Regions from separate parts of the Homo sapiens genome. Here region 2 is linked to region 1. The links are contacts of gene promoters, found by promoter capture Hi-C in blood cells and fetal thymus (Javierre and others, 2016). All regions are on one chromosome and are shown on one strand. The core of a region is centred on a gene start or on the middle of the fragment in contact, and the rest is flanking DNA. Distances in the headings are between cores, read along the strand shown.

Region 1 (6,287 bases), core at 617-3,116:
GCAGTTAGCTCCTCTCTTACTAACTTGCCTGTTGCACTCTTGCAACATATTTTCATACTTTCTCTAATAAATCTGCTTTTCTTTACGTACAGCTGTCCTGGTAAATTCTTACCCTGGCGCCACCAGCCCCAGAGAGTTGCTGCTCACCCACGACAGTCCATGAAGTGCTTACTATGTTGTGCTTTAAATTATTTGCTGATGATTGTTTCTCATACTAGATAATACTCATATCTTGGCAATGGTCCCTAAAAAATATAAACTAGGCCAGGCACAGTGGTTCACGCCTGTAATCCCAGCACTTTAGGAGGCCAGGGCATGTGGATCACCTGAGGTCACCAGTTCAAGACCAGCCTGGCCAACATGGTGCAACCCGGTCTCTACTAAAAATACAAAAATTAGCTGAGCGTGGTGGCGAACACCTGTAACCCCAGCTACTTGGGAGGCTGAAGCAGAAGAATCGCTTGAACCCGGGAGGCAGAGGTTGCAGTGATCCGAGATCATGCCATGGCACTACAGCCTGGGCGACACAGTGAGACTTTGTCTCAAAAAAAAAAAAAAAAAAATATATATATATATATATATATATATATATATATATATATGGCACTCTTCCAATTTAAACGGTTGCAATGTTTGTCCACTCGGCCATATATATTATATTTATACTACATATATATTATATAATATATACACTAAGCTAGGGAGTAGGGGCCGAAGGGACGGAATTATCACTGGGGCAGAGGAAACACCAAAAGAAGGCCACTTTGGCTCCAACGCCTACTCTGCCACCAATCACAGGGCTGATCTTAGGCTGAACACTTAACCTTTCTAGGCTTCAGGTTAACTTAAATAAAAACTATACTACTACTTTCTAGACAAGATCTTCACATGGACCAAATGAAGAAGAGAAAAAATTAAAGACAAAAACCAAACATCATTTGGAAAAAATCTCAAAGGAGCAAAAAAAACATATATCCAAAGTAGTCTTCCTACAACCAATTTCCTTCTCTAATACATTCCTTCTACGACAAACAACTATAAAACACAAACGTTCTAACAGTGCCTAACCAGGCAATCTCATACCTTGTGATGTTTCCCGCATTCACTGTGGGTCGTAACACTTAAACTGATAATCCAAGGCTTTAGAAACGCCTTCCCCGAATCCCCTAGATTGGGCCAAGACTCCTTAGGTGTTCTCTCTGCCATTTATGGTGCAACGTGGCACTCTTCCAATTTAAATGGTTGCAATGTTTGTCCACCTGGCCAAAAAGCAAGCTGCCTGAGAGGAGGAAGCATGTTCCCCTAAATCATCATTGTATTCCCCAGACCCAGCACGGTGCTACCTGGCACCCTGTTAGCTATAACGGAGTCGCTGCGCAATAACTGAATGAAAGGTGCGATTACGGGAAAAAAAAAAAAGCCAGTTACTGAATACATTCCAGGTTGGTCTAAGAGCCCTGTGAGGACCCTCCTCCAACTGGTTTTGTTTCCTCATAATGGGATGATGACAATTTCCCAGGAGGTGAAGTTCAGGCCAAGCCCAACCTGAGCTGGTTAACCCCTCCCTCCAGGAGGTAGGATGGCAGGGGCCGAGGCCCAGAGGCGCCAGCCGGCTAGCGGCGCAGACACGTGGGGAGCTGGGTAGCAGCATCCTCACTCCGCCCGTATCTGGTGGCCGGCCCGGGTCCTGCCAGGGCTCGGCAGGCCCCGCTCCCGTCCACCTCTTCCCCTCCGCGCCGCCTCTCCTTCTCACCTGTCGCTCGCCCTGAGCACTGTATTTATTCCCCTTACTCAGTCCCAGGGACTTCTCCAGTAGCGACAACTCTGCGGCCGCCGCCATCTTCCGGCCGTAGCTCCTGGCAGACGCGAGACCTGCAGAACAAGAACCTCCCGCATTGGTGGAAACAGAAGTCCCACTCCTGCAAACTTCAGCGGCGATTGGCTGAACGGAAGGGGCGTGGAGAGCGCGCGCCAAAGCACAGGAGGCGGGGCCGGTGGAAGGGGCGGGGCTGAGGGCGGGGTGTGAGACAGGTGGAGAAGTGATGGTAAATTTCCACTCGAACTGTTGGGGAGCTAGTTACTGGTAGAAAGGCCCCAAGGCCGGGCTTCGGTGGCTGCAGTAGACTGGATCTGGATCTCTAAATGGCAATCTATTGACATGGCTGCCAGCGGTAACTCGTTAACTCATTTGCTAGTCTAAGAGAATTTATATATGATGGGAACTGAAATTTGCCTTAGTTTGGTTCAGGAATCTGTAAATTTGAACAATCAAATTGAATAGCAAAAAGTTCACAGTCCATTAGGAGTTTCTAACGTGTAGCATAATTCATGAGGATTTTAATTGTGTTGTAGTGGTGAATTCGAAAAACTGGTTTTTCTACTGTTGATCTACAGCTCAACACTAGCAGTAGAATTATACATTTAAAGATTATTCACAGAACACGGAGTATGTCAGATAGGGGTCAAATAATTACAGCTCAAGGAAATAAGCCATTAATGGCATTAATGATCTTTTTTTGCAGTACCAGAAGGCTGGTTACATAATTTATGAAGTTTTGGTATATAAATAAACAAGGTGCATAACTTTGCCCCACTAACTTGCTACATTCTTGTATCTTCAAAAAAGAAAGAAAGGAAGAAAGAAAGAAAATTAGTAGTATATGTTGAATATTTCCAAAAGATTTGTGAAAATACAAAATATTTTCCACTTTGAAGAATGAATAAACAAAGTGTGTATTAGTCTGAGAGAAATAGAACAATCCTACAAGGTAACTCATCATTGAATCAGAAATATCAAAGTTTAGTGGGGAATGTTGTTACTGTGTTACACCTTCCCTATCCCAGAATACTTAATGAGTTTACTCTGTCAGCAGAAGTAAACATAAGGAAAAGAAACTTTTGCCAAATCAACATAACAAAATACAAAAGAAATTTCAGTATAAGTGGATTGTTAGGCACTAAATTATCTGTTTTACTTTCCATATTCAGATAATGGAATGACTATTCTACTACTTTTTAAAAGACCAACCCTCTAAGATAATTCACATATCCATTTTCAGGGTTTAGGTACACTTTTTGCTTGTAATAAAACATTTTTTAAAAAAATTAACATTTATCCAATGCCAATGGGTGGTATATTGAAAATAAGGTTTGGCCTTTGCATAATTATAGAAATATCAAATTAAAAAAGAAATCCCTAAAAAACTGAAAGCAGAACAAAGCATATTGTACATCAAATTGATGACATCATCACCCAGTGTGGACCTCTTTTAAGTGACTTTATAGCACAGTCATTTAATTGTATACTCTTAGTAAGATATGCTTTAAGGACAAAATTCATGAAAACCTGTTTTTGGTTCTTTTTGTTTGTTGGTTTGGTTAGCATCTTGGCAGTGTCAGCATTGGTATGGTGCTGTATATGTACTGTGGAATAAAGCAAAGATGCAATCATGTGGTGTTGCTGGAAAGTTGGGTGTTTGGTGTTGCCCAAAAGAGGAGTTGTAAGGTAGATGAGGTTAAATCAAAACTTTCTGGTCCTGAATTTGAATTGTAATATCAATATGAACTTATGACGCTTTTATCTTAAGGAAAATGAAAAGTATTTCCTACCTAGCTCTGTTTACTTAAAAGGCCTAGAAACAAGGACAACTCAGTAGCAATGAGCACCCCAGCACCCAGATTCTGGTTTCAAATACTATTTCCCACAAAAAGAAATGGGGGCTCTTTGGAGACCGGCTGAATCCAAACCTTGCGGGGAGATCAGTCTGGACCATCTAGTTATAGTAGAAAGAAAAGAAAGTATCTAAGAGTAATGAGGGGAGTCAAAGGGTAGGATCAGATCACTTGAGGGTCAATAATAGTCATTACAAGCTGAGAGTCGATAAGAATAATTGCAATGAATTGAAACATGTTGAATATGTTTAAGTCTATGAGTTCATAATGATACTAAAAAAAAAACAAGAACAAAATCAAAATAACCCTCATTCGTTACCTTTGGAGGATACTAGAGATCCAATTCATTATTTTGAAAAAGGATAAAGAAAACACATGAAGAAACCAATATATTTTTTCATGATTATCCTATGTAAACTGTATCTCAGGGAAACTAAACTCTAATGAGGAAAAATGTCTTTATAGAATTCTAACTAATAAAAACAGAACAATAGAATATTATTGTTTTGCAGCTACGGATATAATAATGAATCTAGGTGACAATTATCAATAGCTATTCACATCATAAAAACAGAGACAAACAGACATAAATTGCTTCTGAGAGAGGTGTACATCATCACCCAGTCTTGCCAATCGAATCTGAATTTGACCAAGCCTTTTGATCTAACAGCCAATTTACAAGAAATAATAGCAGGAAAGAGGATCATGTTAAATGATGTCATGGAGATGCAATGAGCAAATTCTAGATCATGAAAACTATAGGACAAATGATCCAGTTGTTTCAACAAGTAAATTGCAAAGCAAAAAGAAGAGGCAGAGAGAAGTGAACCTGTAAGTTGAAAGCATTATAAGGGAACTGTCAACCAATTGCAATATATAAATCTTTTTTTCAAGTCTGGTTCCAACTAATAAACTGTTAATTTTTTTAAGTGGATTGTCACATCATGATTGTGGCAAATGTCTACTACATTCCATTTTATATACTATGGGTATTAAATTCCATGCCCAAATTCACATAACTAATAGATCTGTGCATGAATCATCTGGGGATTTAAAAAAAAATCCATGCCATACTGGAGATTCTGATTCACTTTATCCGGGGTGGGACTGGGTGCTATTATTATTATTTTTTTAATCCTCAGCTGAGTCTAATATGTGGCCAGGGTTGAAACCCCCTATGGCAGATGCAGAATTTCAACTCTGCTTCCTGGCTTTTAAATCCACACTGTTCTGATTTTCTAATGTCTCCTTTCTCTGTTGTTACGGTGAGCAGGTGCAAGCTTTACTTCACTTAACATTAGACATAAGAAAGAGGAGAAAGCTTATATTTTATTAGAAATAATCAATAAATGTATTTTTAGATGATCTACATATTTGATCTGAAATATCTATATCAACACAGCCTTACTCATAATAAAAGTAACTTGATGAATTGATTTTGTCAAATAGAACACTTCTCTAATCTGCTATTATCATAGTCAAGTTTTAAATCCACAGTACCTTAGGATATAAATTAAATGTCAAATGAAATTAATTTGGCAAGTGGAACATAAACTGGATGGCTTTTCTTTTTGGAGCATGCCTGACAGCTTTCTGTATGTCATATGGGCATCTGTTAAAATGAGCTGCATATGCCAGAAACTGTTACTGTATCAGATTGCTCTTAGCAGTGCCATCATCTGCAAATTTTCAGTTTTAGAAGAGTTTAACTTTCTATTTCAGAATATGATAGGGTTTTAAACTTAGGTGTGAATGATATTAAATATGTGGTAAATGAAGTGATGCAGGTGCTATGCATGCATTTTGTTCTCTCTATAGATACCTCTCATATCTATGTATGTCTTGCACTTACCACGCTTGTTTATTGAGCCATTACTATGCACCAGGCACTGTACAATGCACTGGGGACACATTGATGAACAACTCCCATCAAACTTAGAGTATCTTGAGAGGAAAGACACTAGAACAATTTTGCGATAAGGCAAAGATCAGGAAGTGGAAGGCATGATAAGAATGCAGAGAAGGCACCTGGCCAGGCGCGGTGGCTCACACCTGTAATCCCAGCACTTTGGGAGGCTGAGTTGGGTAGATCACGAGGTCAGGAGTTCAAGACCAGCCTGGTCAAGATGGTGAAACCCCATCTCTACTAAAAATACAAAAATTAGCCAGCTGTGGTGGTGGTGGGCACCTGTAATCCCAGCTCCTCAGGAGGGTGAGGCAGAGAATTGCTTGAACCTGGGAGGTGGAGGTTGCAGTGAGCCAAGATTGTGCCACTGTACTCCAGCCCGAGCAACAGAGTGAGACTCCATCTCAAAAAAAAAGATTGCTTCCAAGAGGTCATGGTGTTCAAGTTGAGACTTGAAGGATGAACAAGAGTTGGTCAGGTGAGTGGTGGGGTGGAAAACTGAGGGAGAGTTCTGAGCAATGGGAATTGCATATGCAAAGGCTGCAAAGTGGAAGAGAGCATGATTCTTTGGAGTAACTGTTCAGGCTAGACCGGTAAGCAGATGCTGGATTGGAAGGGTCCTTGAACGATGCCTCTAAAAATTTTTAGAGGCCTCTGGGCATCCTTTATTTTTGATGGTTAATTTTATGTGTCACCTTGACTGGGCTTC
Region 2 (5,946 bases), core at 2,772-5,271, 3.4 Mb after region 1:
TCAAAGTTGAAAAAGAATGGAAAAATACATATCAGGCAAATGCAAACAGAAAGCAGGACTTAAGACCTTAACATCAGACAAGATTCACATAAATTTTAAAAGCATTTTATAATGGAAATTAATATATTTTTAATTTAAGAAAGCAAAATCACAAATCTTACATACATATGTGTTCACTAAAACACATAGAATCAAAATTCGTAAAGCGCAAACTACAAAAAGTACACAGAAATATAGGCTGAAATATATTATTTGTAGAAGACTTAACCTCACTCAGCCTGTGTTAAGACTGCATTATTTGTTCATTACCATTTGTTGCCCCCTCCCATTCATTCTTTCCATCCTTCTCTGTAGGCAGAATATACTTTTTTATCCCATTCACTTAGGGGCTTAACTATGCAATCTGCTTCAAACAAGGGAATGTGGATATGTGACATGCATGTGACATGGACCCCATATCTGAGCATGAACTTTAAATGCACCTGTGTAGTTTAGCCCTGCCTCTCTTGTCCATGCCAGAGCTGGGATAAGGATGAGGTGGGTGAGACAAGGTCTTGCAAGTGCAGGGTGAGATTCTGTGTTTATTTAAAATTTTGGTATTTCATTAATCATGGATTTTTGCATGAATTTTTATTTTTAAAAATATTATATTAGTATATTATTTATCTTGATAACAGAGTGTTTCAGAGTCTGTTGTCAAGACTTGCAGGCAAGGCTTTGCAGGCAAGGCCAGTGTCCCATTGTAGCCCTGGTTCCAGCCCTATACCATGAGAATGGCATGTACTCAGAGCGTGACATCTTCCTCAGCCTCAGGTATGAAATGAGAAGACCTGTGGAGCTGGACTGAGCTGAATCAAGCTGAATCAGTCTAGATTTTGGACTTGCATGGGGCCTGTAGCTCCTTTGTTGTGGCCAATGTCTCCCATTCGGAATGGCTGTATTTATCCAATGCGTGTACCCCCATTGTATCTAGGAAGTAACTAACTTGCTTTTGATTTTACAGGCTTATAGGCGGAAGGGACTAGCCTTGTTTCAGATGAGACTTTGGACTGTGGACTATTGAGTTGATGCTGAAATGAGTTAAGACCTTGGGGAACTGTTGGGAAGGCATGATTGATTTTGAAATGTGAGGACATGAGAGTTGGCAGGGACCAGGGGAGGAATGATATAATTTGGCTCTGTATGGTTTTATCAAGGGTCTCCACTTTTGCGTCTTCCTCATTCTCTCGTTGCCTGCTGCCACCCATGTAAGACGGGACTTGCTCCTCCTTGCCTTCCACCATGATTGTGAGGCTTCCCCAGTCACATGGAACTGTAAGTCCAATTAAACCTCTTCCTTTATAAATTGCCCAGTTTTGGGTATGTCTTTATCTGCAGCGTGAAAATGGACTAATACGTTAAGTTGATACCAGTAGAGTGGGGTGCTTCTGAAAAGATACCTGAAAATGTTTTTCTCAAAAGATCAATATCATTTTATATTTTAATTGATTTTAAAAAGCTTTCCTCTAGGTTGTCTCTGGACAGTTTTAAAAATGACTAAGGCTAATGGGTGTTCCCTCACTTACATGAGAGAAATAAACCAGGAATTTTGGTTTATGAATTACGTTTGTGAATTGTTTCATGCTGAAGGGCACAGAGTTGAAAGGAAATTTTTGGATTCACTTGGGGTGGTCCCTGATTTCTGACAGGAACGTGACTAAACTCTTCCTGAATTGGTGTATTAATTCAAAATAAAAAATCTGTAGGAAAGAAATTCCAAAACTTTCATTTGTATTAACTCAGTTTTGGGTTTCATAACTCTGGCTGTTGGGAAAATGTCTAATTCTCTTAAGGATATAAGCTTCCAACACAGTCAAGATCATTACTTTTATCAAGGAAAACCTAAGTAGCCTAGAGAGTAGAGATCTTATCTTCAAATGTTACAGATAACACCTTGCACAGAACATTACAGATAGTAGATGCCAAATAAATATAGACGCCAATTAAATTGAACTGAACAGCAGGGGTGAAGTTGTTGGGCAGCAAATAACATTACTGACTTGAGACTTCATTGCTGTGTCTTTCTCATTTCCTGACATGAACACTTGGATTCTGTAAAAAATATTTATTCAGAACAAGAACAATGCTGACTTTTCTATGAAGATCATTCAGTGATTCATTCAACAAATATTTGTGGTGCAGGTGCCAGGCACTGTCCCAGGTTCTGAATATTTTCACTGCGTGCTACTGTGTTTTAAATAATAGTGTGCAATCCTAAGAACGTAAACTAACTAAAGGTTTCTGATATGAGAGTTTAATGAGCCCCTGCTCAGGGAGTTTGCTGTGAACCCTTCACTGAATGTGGTCACATTCCCTAACATCACTAATTATGTAATGCCAAGTCCCTTAAGAATATCATTAGGTAACCTGCACTTCCCCATCAAGAATCTTAAAGTGAGGGAGTTAACAGTGGGTTAAGAAAGATAATGTGGTTGCTAGAAAGAATAATAGACCAGGAATTCAGAAACTGAGCTGTGAAGTGCTGTCATCTCTGTCAAGTCACTTAATTCACAGAATCTGTTTCCCTATCTGTAAAATAAAATTAGAAAAATGTTAAAGCGCTCTTTTAGGTTTGATATTCTGTAATCTTGTTAATAGATCTAATTAAGTCTAAATTCTAGGAGGAAGATAAACTCTACATTAAGAGTTTTGGCTCAATTCCTATTAATGGTGCAAAAATTTCTCTTATGTTGTGACATCAAAAAGAAAATACAAATAAACAAAGAAATAAATGTGTATGTAAATATTATTTTAAAGTGGTCACCAAGAGCACCATTTGACAGGTAATTTGACCCTTCAGTGCTTTGTCAAATATACTTCATGATTTAGCTACAGCAGGTATTTCTTCACTTCTCTTTGTAAATTTTTCTTTATCCAGATGGCAGAGGGGTTGAAAAAAGGTGGGGGGAGGGGCTGGCTACTGCATATTTATGTTACTGCTAAAACTTAAATTTTTATTTTTTAAAGTTAGAAGGTTTCCAATTTCGAGGAGTTTAACTTGTAGTTGGATTTTAGATGCTCCTCTGGCTAACGCTGGACATGAAGACAGACAGCAAAGCGTGGGGAGAGAGATCTAGTTTAAGTTCGAGGGAAAAAAATAACAGACGCAACTTAGATAAAAGAATACTACCATCAAAAAAAGGGGGGCTAGAGCCGGCGATGGCCTTGAGGATTAGGACACCTGCCGAGCCTGGAGTAAACAGGTAATGTCAGGCAGGTCCTGGAACCCCGGGAGGCCCAAGTTCTTGCTGCGGGAAGAGGGATTAGCAGAATGATAACGCAGGTCTGTTTGTGTTTTAGGGGTTTTAACATGCATTCTGCAAGTAAGTGACCTATCCAGGTCATTCGATTCAGGCTCAGAAAAAAAACCCCGCAAATTAATATATCTAAATGCTGAGATAGTGACACCTTTTTAAAAAAGTTATACATAAGCATCTTTATCAAAAAGCATTACATTTTAAGGCAAAAATCTGAACTGTCACAGTATCCACCTCACCGAGTTCAGCAGCCCCACCTTGGGTCAGGGCTGCCCCTGCAGCGCGGGCCCCCGAAATGCCCGCACCGCCCACGCCGCCCGCACCGCGCGCACCCAGCCGGGCCAGGGCGAGGGATCCAGGTCTCCCGGTCTCTCAGGGCGCGCGCCCGGGGTCCGGGGGTGGGGGGCGTGGAGGCGGTTCCCTTGGAGCGCCCAATCAGCAGTAAGGCCCGGCGGTGGCGCCAGTGACGTAGACCGCGCTTCCCTCCGCCCCACTGCGGGCCGTCGCTCGGCGCCGTCAGCCACGCGCGCTGCAGCGCGAGGGGAGAGCGAGAAGGAGGGCTTTGGGGCCGACCGGCTGTTGGAGGGCGGCGGGTCGCGGGGAGCGGGGGAGTGAGCATGCGCAGCGGCTCCGGGGAGCGCAGGGGAGGAGGGGCCGGCGCTGAGAGGCGCGCGCGTGCGCGTGCACGAGTGGCCCGCCGGCGGCTGCGGGTGGAGGGGGCGGTTCCTCGAGTGTCGGCGACCCGAGGGCGGGCAGGCGGGCGGCAGGTGCCGCCGCAGCCTCTGGCTGGTCCCGCGTCTCCGTCCTCCGGCGGCGATGAGCTGGGCCCTGTCGGGGGCTGCACCTGCCGGCTGCCCATCAGCACCGGCCTCCTGGCGTGACCTCGGCCTCCTCGCGTGTCCAGTCCCCGCGGCGCGGCGCTGCCCCTGAGAGGGAGCGGCGGCGGCCTCCTCCGCCCCGAGTCCTCGCTCGGGGGCCGCGCGAGGACGGCGCCCGGCCCCCTCCCCTCCTTCCTCCGTCCGCCGTCCTCAATGTCTCCCCGGCGGGGAGGGGGCTGCCTGGGAGACACGCTGAGCGGCCCCCCCACGGAGGCCCTCCGGCTGCAGCAGCAGCAGCGCCCGGCCCGGCGTCCCGCAGCCTCCACCAGCGGCGGCGGCCTGGAGGAGCCGCGCACCCGCCGCCGCCCCCCGAGCCTCGCAGCCGCCGCCGCCGCCCGGCACCCGAGGAGAGGGCGGCGGGCGCCCCTCGGGGAAGATGAAGGCGGAGGGGGGCGACCACTCCATGATCAACCTGTCGGTGCAGCAGGTCCTGAGCCTCTGGGCCCACGGGACGGTGCTGAGGAACCTCACGGGTAATTGACGCGCCTGGGCTGGGGACGGGGATGCGGTCCGCCCCTCTCCTGTCTTCTCCTTCCTCGGGAGGGGACACGCTCCTCGCCGCCCCACCCCCGTGCGCGCCCCGCTCGGAGCTCCAGGTCCCGGCGAGGAAGGTGTTAATCGGAGCCACTCTGCGCGTGTCCCGGGGGCGCCGGCTCCCGCCACCCCCTTCCCTGAGTCGCCAGGGGAGCATCAGCGACCCCCGCTCCTGCCCCGCACGGGGAGAGCTCCCGGTGGCGGCCCGGCCTCTGTAGTACGCGCGGAGTAGCTTTAGTGCTGAGACTTGAGCGCATTTCGCTTTTATTCCATTACCCTCCTCCCCTCCCCCTTCTACACACATCGCTTCTTGCTATTTACATCTTTTTCTGATTTAGTTCTTTTTCTTTCTGGCAAATCTCAAGCCAAATGTAGAACCTAAAATCATTGCCCACAATGGTCGATTTACTTTTTCAACCGCTAATTTTTTGGGCGATGTAGATAACTGAGTAAATTATAGTGGGTCAGGGGCTGAGCTAAGGTCTAGTGCGGTCTAAGCGTGTTAGCTTCATATATCTCCTTCCCCTCCCATTTCCTTTTGTCTGTCTGTCTCTTTCCCTCAGGCCTCCAGCTGCTGCTTCTGAGACATTTGATAATTTTGTGTATTTCCCTTCATTTATTAAGGCTGTCAGTAATTGGCCTTATAACATCAATTTCTATTTGTAAAAGTGAGTGATAAAACACACAATATTTTTATTCAGTCTGTAGATTTGCTTTGTGAAGAAACTTCTGGTTTTGTTATGTGGAAATGCTTACATTATACTTTGAGTTCCGAATTTAAAAATTATTCTCTGAAGTAGAATTTACGAGAAAGAGATTCAGTTGCGATTTGGTGACTCCTCAGTGCCTGCTTTTCAGAGGAAAAAAATCTTAAAAAAATACTCAGAATTTAATTCTTGAAAATGTGTAAGGCAGTTAATTTCAGTAGAACATTAGTATTTCAAAATGCATTTTGTCAAACTGGTTAAAGTGTTGTGAGTATTTTACAAATATAACCTGGGTTCATATATATAACATATATATAAAGTCTGGCATGGTATAGAATACAAACATTCATAGAAGAAAATTTTATGGAATTATATACCACAAAAGACAACTTTAAGGACACTGGTTTCTTCGAATGGAAACTATACAGTTAAAGTAGATTCTGGATTGCTTCATGCTATCCTCACTTTTAAGCTGTGGTTATTTAACTTGAAACAGACTGACTTTACATGATGATTGCCGGTAAGGAATAT

What was found. The method cuts DNA at HindIII sites, captures the fragments that hold promoters and counts their contacts. A CHiCAGO score of 5 or more calls a contact.
Region 2: the fragment with the promoter of TMEM170B here is called in contact with the fragment with the promoter of EEF1E1 in region 1 in 2 of 17 cell types (total CD8 T cells and non-activated CD4 T cells); the score reaches 6.7 in total CD8 T cells.

Annotation. Positions count from the first base shown.
Region 1 is chr6:8,100,682-8,106,968 of GRCh38, forward strand. EEF1E1 (eukaryotic translation elongation factor 1 epsilon 1) reads right to left here and starts at 1,867. Exons shown (of 4, transcript NM_004280.5): 1 at 1,754-1,867. The coding sequence starts at 1,840. It overlaps EEF1E1-BLOC1S5 (EEF1E1-BLOC1S5 readthrough (NMD candidate)), which reads right to left and starts at 1,914. Exons shown (of 7, transcript NR_037618.1): 1 at 1,754-1,914. RefSeq lists silencers at 1,266-1,451, 1,660-1,779, 1,920-2,119. The HindIII fragment of the contact is 8,997 bases long and covers 1-4,950 here.
Region 2 is chr6:11,533,728-11,539,673 of GRCh38, forward strand. TMEM170B (transmembrane protein 170B) reads left to right here and starts at 4,022. Exons shown (of 3, transcript NM_001100829.3): 1 at 4,022-4,647. The coding sequence starts at 4,551. RefSeq lists silencers at 3,486-4,315, 4,346-4,505, 4,606-4,685, 4,696-4,975 and an enhancer at 4,315-4,816. The HindIII fragment of the contact is 5,632 bases long and covers 1,839-5,946 here.